Regions from separate parts of the Homo sapiens genome. Here all the other regions are linked to region 3. The links are contacts of gene promoters, found by promoter capture Hi-C in blood cells and fetal thymus (Javierre and others, 2016). All regions are on one chromosome and are shown on one strand. The core of a region is centred on a gene start or on the middle of the fragment in contact, and the rest is flanking DNA. Distances in the headings are between cores, read along the strand shown.

Region 1 (3,803 bases), core at 281-2,780, 340 kb before region 3:
AGGCAGCAGACTTAACATGGTATGCTCCTGTGGGGATTCATACTTTATTTCTGGCTTGCTTTTAGGGTCCCAGGGCAAGTCGATATTAAAGAGATACTAATAAATTGCTAAATGGAAAGGGAGACTAGGACTCAGCTGGCTCCAGGCCTGAGCTTCTGCCTTGTCCCAGAGGGAAGCCAATGTTCACAGCAGGGCACATGGAGTTACCAGTTGTCCACCCAAAGGAACTCTCATCCCCTTCACTAACCAGGGAAAATGTCATATTAAGATTGTCCTCCTGTTGCAGTGAGCCGAGATCATGCCACTGCACTCCAGCCTGGGCGACAGAGCGAGACTCCGTCTCAAAAAAAAAAAAAAAAAAAAAAAAGATTGTCCTCCTTCAATCTTTTTTTACTATTAAATGAGAGCTTTGTATTAAACTATTCAGAATTGGGTTGTCCTTGTTTTTAGGTTCCCACACTATCTCTTTTGAATAAAACATGTTGTTGGGTGACAGCCCTTAGGGTTTTTCTCAAATCATTTCTCATGTGAATCCCCTTCATCCTCACTGTCCTTCCCTTAAGAAACTGGCGTGTGATAATGATGATTTAGAGGTCATTTCTGCTGACCTCATCCCTGAATCAGAGGAAACAGCATGGAGTAAGTTCTAAGTTCGGGGCCCACACCATATCAAATTTAGGCCTGGGGAAGGCAGTATGGCTCTTTCCAAACCCTCCAAAACACTACTGGGCTCCAAGACTGCTCAAGGTCTCACTGATAGTCAAGGCTTGTGCTCCTTTTTTTCAGAAGAGTAAGATTAAAGAAAACCACTGTGAATTAAAAAGTGTGGGTGCCAACATGGGACGGGAGTCCCCCCTCACTCCATGGATGACATAGAGGGGGCAGAAGATTACAGAATTGGCATTGTCCTGCGTGGAAGCTGGGCCACCCACAGTGGCGTGGGAAGCCTCTCAGATGCTGGATTCTAATGGGCTCTTGATCACCTTGGATTGGGCTATTTCATTGTTATCACAAAATAAACAGGATGCTCCAAGTCATGTTATGGCAGAGAACCAACCAGCTTCACACTGGTCCTCTAAACCAATCCTCACAACAGGACTGGGAGACAGGTGTTACCTTTCCCACTTTACAGAGAATGAAACAGAGTGGCAAAGCCTCCGAAGGACCCTACACTTCGGACATCGCAAAGCAGGATCTGAGTCCCGGCTCCTCTGTCCAAACCTACTTGCTAGGCTTTCTTTCCCATGTCTACTCTATAGCTGGAAAGGTCGTGGAGGACACATTTTAGGCCAACCCTCTCGGTTTACAATCCAGAGAGGGGAGACCCTCAGAAGCCAAGCGACATGTCCACGGCTACGCGGCGAGTGTGTGGCAACGTGGAAGGGGAGCCCGAGACGCCCTGGTCTCTCCCTTCTCTCGCAGGTTCCTTTCTCCCCGAACGCAGCCCGCAGGGGACGCTGGAGGAGGAGCTGAGCTGGAGTTGCCGGGGCCCCGGGACCGGGCGTTCCGGGGGCGGTCCCCAGCAGCCGCGCATTCCAGAGCCAGCAGCGCGTCCTGGCCGCTCCTGCGCTCTCCCGCCTCCCGGGGCTCGGAGGAGCCGGGGCACGTTCCAGGAGCTGCCTAGGGCTGAGGTTCCAGGCCTGGGGGTCGCTTCCAGCTGCCAGATCCCGTGCAGTCCTGGGGACCCTGAGAAGCACCGAGCCATCCCTGACCCAGGAACTTTCCGCAGACTCGCCGCCATCTGGGGTGAGTGGGGCCACCGGGGGATTGTTTGTGGGGCTCTGGCAGAGCGGAGCTCTTCGGATTCGCGACCTACCTCTAGTGCGGCCCCTTTCCCCGGGCTCCCAACGTTCTTCTTTATGTCCGGTCTCTCCTCCCCATTTCTCCCTTTTCATCACTTTTGTATTTCTTGCCCTCACCCCCTCCTTTTTCTCCTGCTGTCAGCTCTTAAGTTCGAGCCTCCTAGTGCACAGAATTTTGGGCCTGGGGGAGGCGGAGCTTGGGTGGGCGAACCCCAGCCCCACTCGGAGACTGGCTTCTCTCCGGGTCCGCTGCCCTTGCCTTCTCGGGAAGCCTCCTCCTCGGGCAGACTGCCACCTCCTGGCTCTCCAGGCCCAGCGTCAGGGTTCAGCGCCCGGGCCTGAGCACCTGCTTGGGCGCTGCGCTGGGTTTGGGTCTTTGCACTTACCTGTCCCGCTTTTCTCGAGGCCCCGTGTAGAAGGCGCCAGGAGTTTGGAGTCAGGAGTGGCGGGTTCCAGCCCTGGTTCTGTCACTAACTGCTTCACCATCCTTGTTTTTCCATCAGTGAAATTGGGAAAACATTTTCTGCGTGCAGAAAGCAAAGGAGAAAGGACATGAGCAAAGTATCTTGGAGAGAAGGCTTCCTTCAAGCTCCCTCCTGCTGGTTAGCTGTCCCTTTCCTGAGGACGTAGTTGTTCCAGTTGCTGGTTGTTTTGCTCCCTAGTCTCCCCCATGCCAGTTTCTTGAGGGTAGGGACTGCCTGTCTATCGTCATCTCTGAGGCATTCTCAGCTCTTGGAGCAGGGCCTGGCTAACAGTAGGTGCTCCATACATATGTACTGAGTGAAAGGATGAAAGGTGTAACCCCCCCCGCCCCCCCCACAAATTGAAACAAACCTCAGGGGCTGTTATTCTGATTGAGGGCCAGGCTGGGCTCTTACTTATGCAGCTGCACTTGTTTCTTCTGGACCAGCTGGAATCCTGCTGCACCTGGGGGCTGAGGAGTCTCCGGTTCATCTGTGGTGAATACTAAGGTCCTCAAAGCTCCAGGGTGTGGTGGTGAAGGCTGCGCAATCACACAAGTATCAGAGATTCCTTGAACATCTGCTATGATGCGTGCTGCTACTGCAGTGGCCACATAGTTTGGAAGGATTGGGGATGCCTGAATTAGGTGGAGGTGGGAGCGGGAAGAACAGGTACTCTGGGGGTTAGGAGACCCTCTGAATTACCCTAATGGAGGCATTTCCCCTCTCTGGCCCTTGTCTTCCCTATCTGTAAAATGAAGACATGGGAGTGGAACAGATGTTTGTCTGTGGTTGAGCATGACATGCTCTTTGGTTTATGCAGGCCGCACAGCAGCCATCTAGACACACGCAAAGCAGCACAGCTGAGCTTTAGGACATCATGTGCTTCTGCAGTGACAACTGAAAAAAACTAAAAAGTGTTTTCCTGCTCCAGCCGGGACCTCCTGTTCCCAGCTGTCCTGGGACTGTGAATCATGCTGTGGGGGTTACAAGTCATGCTTCATGAACTCTCCCACAAGTGACCTCTCCGAACCTCAGAACTGTGGCTCCATGACACTAAAGATCTGGGGAGTCCCAGAGAACAGCCAGAGAACCACTGAGTCGCGGTGAGGTGTTAGAGATGCAAAACAAATGAGAGACTCTGGGGGCCTGTGGTCAGGTCAGATCCTGGGCCCTTGGGGGTGACAGACCAAGGGGATAAGGGCCAGTCACAGCCTCAGATGCTTTCTCAGCCATACGCCAATCCTTTAAACGTTGTGCCTCCATTTCTTCTCTATGGATTGAAACATGCAAAGGAAATACCTCCAAGGAAAGAGAATATCTTGGTTGGGTGTGGCGGTGGTATAAAAAATGGGCACGTGTACTCACAAACACAGTTTATTGAGGTATAGGAGTAAGTGTTGGCATTGCGACACCCTGCCTTGTCCTCCCCCACCCTGACTGGCCCAGTAAGCGGAATGATGTTATAATGATCATACTTGCCATTTACTGAGTACTTACTATAAGCTAGGCATGACTCTAAGCATTTTACTTGTATTAA
Region 2 (3,759 bases), core at 853-3,352, 420 kb before region 3:
CCTCCTCAGCTAAAATGCTCGAGTGGACAGTCATACACCACCTGGTGTACAAACTCCTCCAGTGCCCATCCACTGACACCGTAAGAATCTCTACATTAGAGGGTTCATTTTCTTACCTCCCACATAAACAGTTGCCAGCCAATGAATATATCAGTAATACATAAAAAGTTGTATAGCACTGATTTTTACTGGAAGACCTCAAAACTTAGTAAGCTGAAGGCTAATTTGGTAGAGAAAAGAAAAATGAAACAGAAATCATTACTCTTTAACAGACATACTTACTTTGCATTCCTTCCCATACTTTTCTTTGGTCTATAATAGAAAAAAAATAGAAAAGAACTGGAGTTACAGAAAGAAAAAAGCCAGATGTCTACTCTTTCCTTAAACATAACCCAAGAAATGTGTCTGGAAATCCCTGGCATCCTAGAGAGAGAAAAACAGCAACAACAAAACCCAAAACCCAACCTTTTTTGGGAAGAGGGTAGGGAACATACTATAACAACATATTATAAGTGATAACATCTCAAGAGTATATGGATCTGGGCTGGGTGGCAGTGGCTCACGCCTGTAATCCCAACACTTTGAGAGGCCAAGGTGGAAGGATTGCTTGAGCCCAGGAGTTCCAGACTAGCCTGGGCAACATAGCGAGATGCTGTCTCTACAGAAAAAAGAAATAGAGTATATGCATCTAATGCTAGGTAAGTGAGTGTCTTTCCACAGCCACAACTCTTAGGTTCATTTTTGGCTCCCAAGTTCACTCCCAAGAACTAACATTCCTAATGCTTTCCACAATCCCTAAATCAGAGAGGATACAGCTGTGGCCCGCCCACTTTACAAAGTTTAGTCAAAAGGTAGCTACTGTAGACTTGTCCTGTGCCAATGCCCGGAATATAGTAAATGTTCTGTTTAAACAGAACTATTCAAACATCTTGAACCATTCAAACATCGTGAACATACTAACATATCAACACCTCTACGACTACACAATAATACAGCCCTAACCTTATTATTGTTAACTGGTTCTAATTTTACCCTAGTTTGTAACAAAGGGGGAATGCTTACTTTAAAGAGATAAAGTACACTGGCCAAAAGGCATTTGACCAGGATTCAGGAAACCTAGTTTCTAGTTCTGGTTCTCCTCCTATCATGCTGACATTCCTAGAGCCAGAATATGTGAACTTAAATCCCAGCTCCATTCCTTACTATTGTATGAAAAGACACAAACGCTCTCACCTTCTGGTCAACAGACCTATTTCCTAGGTAAATGCTCAACAAATACTAGCTATCGTTATTACCCCTACATTACAGGAGTGTTACCGGATTCGTAAGAGAATACACATGACAGTTCTTTGCAAGTCGTCCAGCACTTCGCGTTAGTAAAAGAGCATCATTTTTTCTGCTTGTCTAAGAGAAACACTTCACAGTGTGCAAGTACCACAACATCGACAGGACATGAATAACTCGTTTCACACGCGATCACTCACCATTCGGATATATGGGTTTTCTCCAAGACATGTCTGGCACAGAATGGGGAAGTCCTGGTGAAAATGGGAAATCTGGTTGAGGACCACCCTCCGAAGACCCTGACACCTCAGTGACACTTGGGGTGGCGAGGGGGCGGGAAGCGAGGGTGGGGAACTAGGCACGGCAGGAACCCGAAGTCCATCACGACCCGATCGCGGGAGGGGGCGCTGTCTGCACTTCCGGCAGGCGGCGGGAGAAAAGAAAACCAGCTCTAATAGGCTGGAGGGGGCAGGGATGGAAAGGGTGCTGGTCCCGGGACCCTGGCTAAGCCCCCTCCCTTCAAGCCCGCAGGAGGATCGCCCTCCGCCCTCCTGCTCCGGCCAAGCTAGGCCGCCGCGCTGGCTCCTCCCCGGTATTCCTTCGGCCGCGCCGCAGGCCCTGTCCTGCCAGCTTGCAAGGTGCGCGGCTTCGCCTCCTCCTTCCATCCTCCTCCGGCAGGCACACTCACCGCATCCTCCCAGTTCTGCCTGTTGTAGGTGTTGGAACCCAGAGAGGTCGCCATCTTGAGAGCGTCCGGAGGTAGCTGTAGCTTCCGAATTGGGAGAGAGGACCGCCACAATCCCGTCAAGCCCCGAGGCTAGCGCCGCGCCGGTCGGCGTCTTATTTACGCGTCTAGGGCTTCTTCCGGGGCGGGGCCTTTGCGTCATGACGTCGCCCGCTCTTGGAATTTCTAAGCTTAACAATTGGGGTCCTGGTATAATGCACCTGGATGCTTCCTTCGAGTTTTTGCCTGCTTGGAATGAAGGGCCACACGTACAGTTGATTCATTTAACAATTGGGCGAAAGAATAAAGGAAGACGTAATGCATCAGAGGCTGGGGTTAAAATAGCGTTCGCTACCACTGAGGCGCTTATTATGCCAAACTCTGGGCGAACGTCTTGCGGTTCCAGTGTCTTATTTATTCGCATAACCTCTCTGTAGGGCTCTCTGTAGGGCTGCCAGATTCTGATTCTGTCTCTCTCTCTCTCTCTCTCTCTCTCTCTCTCTCTCTGTCACTCACACACACACATGCACACACACACACGCACGAATTACAGAACGTCTAAAGTTGAATTTCAGATTAACGGCGAATCGCTTTTTAATTATAAATATATATGGTACCTACTCGTCCTAAAGTAGGATTCGTGGTTGACCTGAAATTCACATCACTTAACCAATCGTCCTGTATTTTATCTGGTAACTCTACCCTGTAGGCAAGTATGATGATCCCTCTTTTATAGAAAAGAAAACAGGTTTAGAGAGATTAACCTAATCTCTCCTGATATAGCTCCTGGTTGTGGAGCTAAAAAGTGGTGAAGCCACAAATTCATTAGTACTGTTTCATTTCCAGCTTCTGAAATGACAAGGGTCTTACGAATCAACATATGCATTATTTGATTTTTGGAATAACTCATAACCACTCTGCCAATATTTTATGAGTTTCAAGCCATTCTGGTACCACTTTCATACTTACCGTGTCATCAAGCTACCTAACACATTTATTTAAATCACCTCATTAAAAAAAAAAGTTGATTTAAAGTATAATTTACATAAAGTTTTATCCTTTTTAGTTTTGAATTTTGTACATACATTCACTTACAGTCAAATATGGAATTGTCTGTCATCCCCAAAGTTCCCTTGTTTCTGTAGTTAGTCCACTTATCCCATACTCAAACCATGGCAATCACTAATTTGTGTTCTGTCCCTAGTTTTGCCTTTTCCAGAATGTCACATAAGTGGAATCCTATATATCCTTTTGGATCTGATATTTTTTCACTTAGTATTTTGTAGTTGAGATTCATCCATATTATTACATGTATCAATAATTTCTTCCTTTGTATTACTGAGTAGAATTCCATTGTATGGATATATCATACAATTCACTTGCCAGTTGCTGGATATTTGGGTTGTTCCCAGATTTTAGTGAATATAAATAAAACCATTATAAACATTCACATACAGATCGTTGTATGGACATTGGTTTTCATTTTGCTTGTGTAAATGCCTTAGAGTGAGATTATTTGATCATATGGTAAGTATATCTTTTCCTTTATAAGAAAGTCCTTGGGTTTATCTGAGCTTCTTGGATCTGTGATTTGTTGTCTTTTATTATATTTGGAAAATTCTCAAGTATCATCTCTTCAGACTGTCTTCTGCCTGGTTTCTACATCTGTGACTCCAATTTCACATGCCTTGTGAGGAGTGCAAGGTCAGAAATAACAGAGTCCACGTACATTTGTGTTTTTCCACAATGCC
Region 3 (3,742 bases), core at 1,193-3,692:
TTTGGGGTGAGAGCTGAGATTTTTAAAAAACTCTCAGCAGCACACGAGGCTGTTCACAGTAATACTTAATAAACGTCTGTTGAATGAGTGAATGAAATGTGGCCTCAGCAAGCCACCCTAGTGTCTGGCTGGGTTCTCAGCCTAACCCCCATCCATGTGCCCACAATGTAGCTGAAATGCCATACATTTAAATGTAACCCTGCAGCTTTTGACAACCATATTCCAAAGCAAGGGTTGGACAACTGGACAACAACAGCTATTTGATGTGGAAGCTGCAGGGGACCTTAACTCTACTGGGTCTTGGAAGATATTACTGTAAATGGAATTAAGCATAGACTCTGGCATCAGGCAAGCCTGAGTTCAAATAAAACCACCACCACTTAGAAATTCTTTCATTGAAGAGGTTAAGGAGCTTCATTTTCTTCTAGTAAAAAGGGAGAACATAAAAACGTATAGAATAATCTTGGCATCGTTCTCAATATATAGTATGCATTCTAAAAATTATAATTACAATTCTGTAACTGTCAGGTTCCAGCTAAAGATTTTTCTAGCTCAGATGCTGTTGTAGCAAACCACACTTCTGTTATGGGACCTGGGAACAGAAAAGTTGGTTCCCTGACTCTCAATCCATCAGTGCTCTTTTCAACTCACCAACTATAAAAGAAGGGGGCTGGATGTCTATAAAAGTCTGTGGTGTCTGTGCCCCACATCCCTGGACACAGCTTTTGGGGGCGGGAAAATGAGGCAGTCAGAAGAGATGGAGACATGGACCTGGGTCAGGCTACTGGGTGCTGGGATCAAGGTGCAGGTCAGTGGGGGACAATGCACTGGCCTCAGTAGGGACTGCCCAGCCATAGAACCCTCAGGGAAAATGAATTTGGGGTTGTCCAACCTCCAGAAGAAGCCATTTCCAGACCTCAAGCTCACTAGGCTAAGGAGCAGGGCTGAGGCAGAGCAGCCAAGAGACTCCTAGAGAACCCTTTTCCCTGCTATTCATTCAACAAATATTTATTGAGCACTGATCATGTGTTACTTTGGATATATCAGTGAACAAAATGAAGATTCCAGCCCTTGAGGAACTTACTTTCTAGGCTCGTCCCAGGACACTCCCTCCAATCTCGGTCCCATTTTACAGATAATAAACCGAGGCCTTTAGCACTCAGGCCCTCTTCTCAGCAAGTTCCCAGACCAGCTCTCTAGGGGTCAATTCTACTGGGGCCACTGATTTGCTGTGTGACTTTCAGAAGTCATTTGCCCTTTCTGGACCTCCATTTTCCCACTGTAACATGAGGGCTTTGACCTGGGTGATCTGCAGGTCCCTGCCAGCTCTGAGGGTCCTGCTATTCACCTAGGAAATGCCAGTAATACCAGCACCACACTTCTAAACCTCATTTCTACAGTCTAAGTATCAACCAATCAAACCAACCACGCCCCTGCCAGGAGCCTTCACTCACAGACAGGGCCCGGCGTAGACACGCATAAGCTGGACCTACATCTCAGGGACACCCGGCAGAGGTGACTGGGGTGGGCTGGGGGTCTTACCTGGGCATCTTCCCGTGCCTGGTCCAGGTTTTCTCCTCCCTCCTCACGATGCCCCTGCAGCAGGAGCAGCAAGAAAGTTCAGTCCCCAAACATCGACCCATCTCCATCTCTGTACCACCACACACCCTGCTCATTTTCACCTCTCTGAATGCTCTTCCTCATCAGCTACACAGGGACGAAAATCCTGCCTCTATAAGGTAGGCTGTTGTGGTCATTAACTGAGAATGTGTGCAAGACACTTAGCACCAATGCCTGACACACAGCAAGCTCTCGGTAACTGTCAATGAGGGTCTGCCATTTTGGTTATGGGAATTCAAGAGATGGTGACAGAAGCTCCCAGGTAACAACACAGGAGAGGGTCACCCATATGGCTTTGTCCTGTGAGCTGGGGGCCCAACAAGCCAGGACAAGGGCCACCAGGGAGGACTGTCTGGAGAAGGTGGTACCACGCCAACTTTGACAAGGGAACAACAGGGGTAGGCGGTGGAACTCTAAGGAGGCAAGTGGGGAGACACCCCCTCTCCATCAGGAGTGCACTTCTAACTCCCCTGTGCCCTCCACTCAGTAAACCTTCCCTTCCTCCCAGGCCTCCCGATGGGCAAGCCGACCTGGGGCCCATGAATTCACTCACCGTGGCCAGAGAAATGAGGATCCTCCTGAAGTGGCCAGATGTGTCTGAGCTCAGAGCATCCTCCAGGGACTTGTGATAGTCTGAGGCAGAGAAAGGGGGTGTGGGTAGCTGCTGGCCAAGAAGGATTTGGTTGCGGGGAGGGAGGTCCAGGAAACTCAGGCTTGAGCCAGGGCAGTATTGGCAGGGGGAGGTGGGGATGAAAGGGTTTGTAACTGGCTCATGGGGGCATCCAGCCATCCTCCTGCTGATTTTGTAAGACAATGGGCATTCCCATCAACCCATCATCTCCCCTCCATCCCCTCAGCTCTGTCCCAGTTGAGGTCCCATTGCATCTCGCCTTTAATATTTAACAGCCTCTTAAGTCACCTCCCTGTTGTCATTCTCTCTTCTACCTTCCCTCCTGCATGGCAGTTGCTAAACCCAAAAGCAGAGCTCTGACTATGTCACTCCTGTACTCAAAAATTCTGCCATTTTAAAGCTGCTTATAAGATAAAAAATGTAAACTTTTTTTTTTTTTTTCAAGACAGGGTCTCACTCTGTCACCCAGGCTGGAGTGCAGTTGGCATGATCAAGGCTCACTACAGCCTCGACCTCCCTGGGCTCAGGTGATCCTCCCACCTCAGTCTCCTGAGTAGCTGGGACTATAGGCACATGCCACCACACTTAGCTAATTTTTTTGTTTTTTGTTTTTTTTGAGATGGAGTCTCATTCTGTCTCCCAGGTTGGAGTGCAGTGGCGTGATATCGGCTCACTGCAACCTCTGCTTCCCAGGTTCAAGTGATCCTCCTGCCTCAGCCTCCTAAGTAGCTGGGGCTACAGGCGCATGCCACCACGCCTGGCTAATTTTTGCATTTTTAGTAGAGACGGGGTCTCACCATGTTAGCCAAGTTGGTCTTGAACTTCTGACCTCAAGGGATCCACCATCTCGGCCTCCCAAAGTGCTGGGATTACAGGGGTGAACCACCGCACCCAGCCAATTTTTATATTTTTTGTAGAGACGGGGTTTTGCCATGTCGCCCAGGCTGGTCTCGAAGTCCTGGGCTCAAGCAATCCGCCTGCCTGAGACTCCCAAAGTGCTGGGATTACAGGTGTGAGCCACTGCACCTAGCCGATTTAAACATTTTTGACTGGTACTCAAGATTCTTCAGAATGAAAATATGGGGCCACTCGCTTAAAAATGAAGAATTTCTGGACAGTGACAGCATAGCTTGCAACCAAGTGTGGGGCCCTTCTGGCTGTGGGGCCCTGTAGAACTGCATGGACTACACACCCCTAGAGTCGCCCTCCCTCTCTCCAGCAGGCCAGAATGTTCTCTGTTCCCACTTCCAGCCAAGCCCTTTTCTACCTCCAGGCCTTTGTCCTACCAGGACACCTGTCTTTTCCCCAGACACAGGGATGGGCACACCCAAGAGGCTTATCAAATCCTCAAGGACTGAGGGAAAGGAGACAGGCCAGAGTCCTGGGCAGAGCTGTGGGCTGGGGTTGGAAGTTGGGGGGCCTGGCTGTTCTCCCAGCATCTGGGCCCAGGCCTCCCAAACTCACCCTCCTTATAGGCCTCATTGATGGCCC

The links. Contacts are between HindIII fragments. The CHiCAGO score rates a contact against its expected background, and 5 or more counts as called.
Region 1: a contact is called between the fragment with the promoter of SMIM3 here and a fragment that was not itself captured in region 3, in 1 of 17 cell types (neutrophils). The highest score is 6.4, in neutrophils.
Region 2: a contact is called between the fragment with the promoter of RBM22 here and a fragment that was not itself captured in region 3, in 1 of 17 cell types (fetal thymus). The highest score is 5.2, in fetal thymus.

The regions. Positions count from the first base shown.
Region 1 is chr5:150,777,227-150,781,029 of GRCh38, forward strand. SMIM3 (small integral membrane protein 3) reads left to right here and starts at 1,531. Exons shown (of 2, transcript NM_032947.5): 1 at 1,531-1,746. LOC124901110 reads right to left here and starts at 3,175. Exons shown (of 2, transcript XM_047417995.1): 1 at 2,681-3,175; 2 at 1-2,325. The coding sequence starts at 1,895. The coding sequence ends at 1,254. RefSeq lists a silencer at 1,426-1,615 and an enhancer at 2,053-2,914. The HindIII fragment of the contact is 6,508 bases long and covers 1-3,803 here.
Region 2 is chr5:150,698,960-150,702,718 of GRCh38, forward strand. RBM22 (RNA binding motif protein 22) reads right to left here and starts at 2,103. Exons shown (of 11, transcript NM_018047.3): 1 at 1,973-2,103; 2 at 1,485-1,538; 3 at 283-312. The coding sequence starts at 2,026. RefSeq lists enhancers at 1,345-2,121, 2,122-2,898. The HindIII fragment of the contact is 2,219 bases long and covers 1-2,197 here.
Region 3 is chr5:151,115,585-151,119,326 of GRCh38, forward strand. ANXA6 (annexin A6) reads right to left here. Exons shown (of 26, transcript NM_001155.5): 18 at 3,716-3,742; 19 at 2,174-2,253; 20 at 1,543-1,596. Among named protein-coding and RNA genes, the nearest start is that of TNIP1, 36 kb to the left of the region's middle. The HindIII fragment of the contact is 8,685 bases long and covers 1-3,742 here.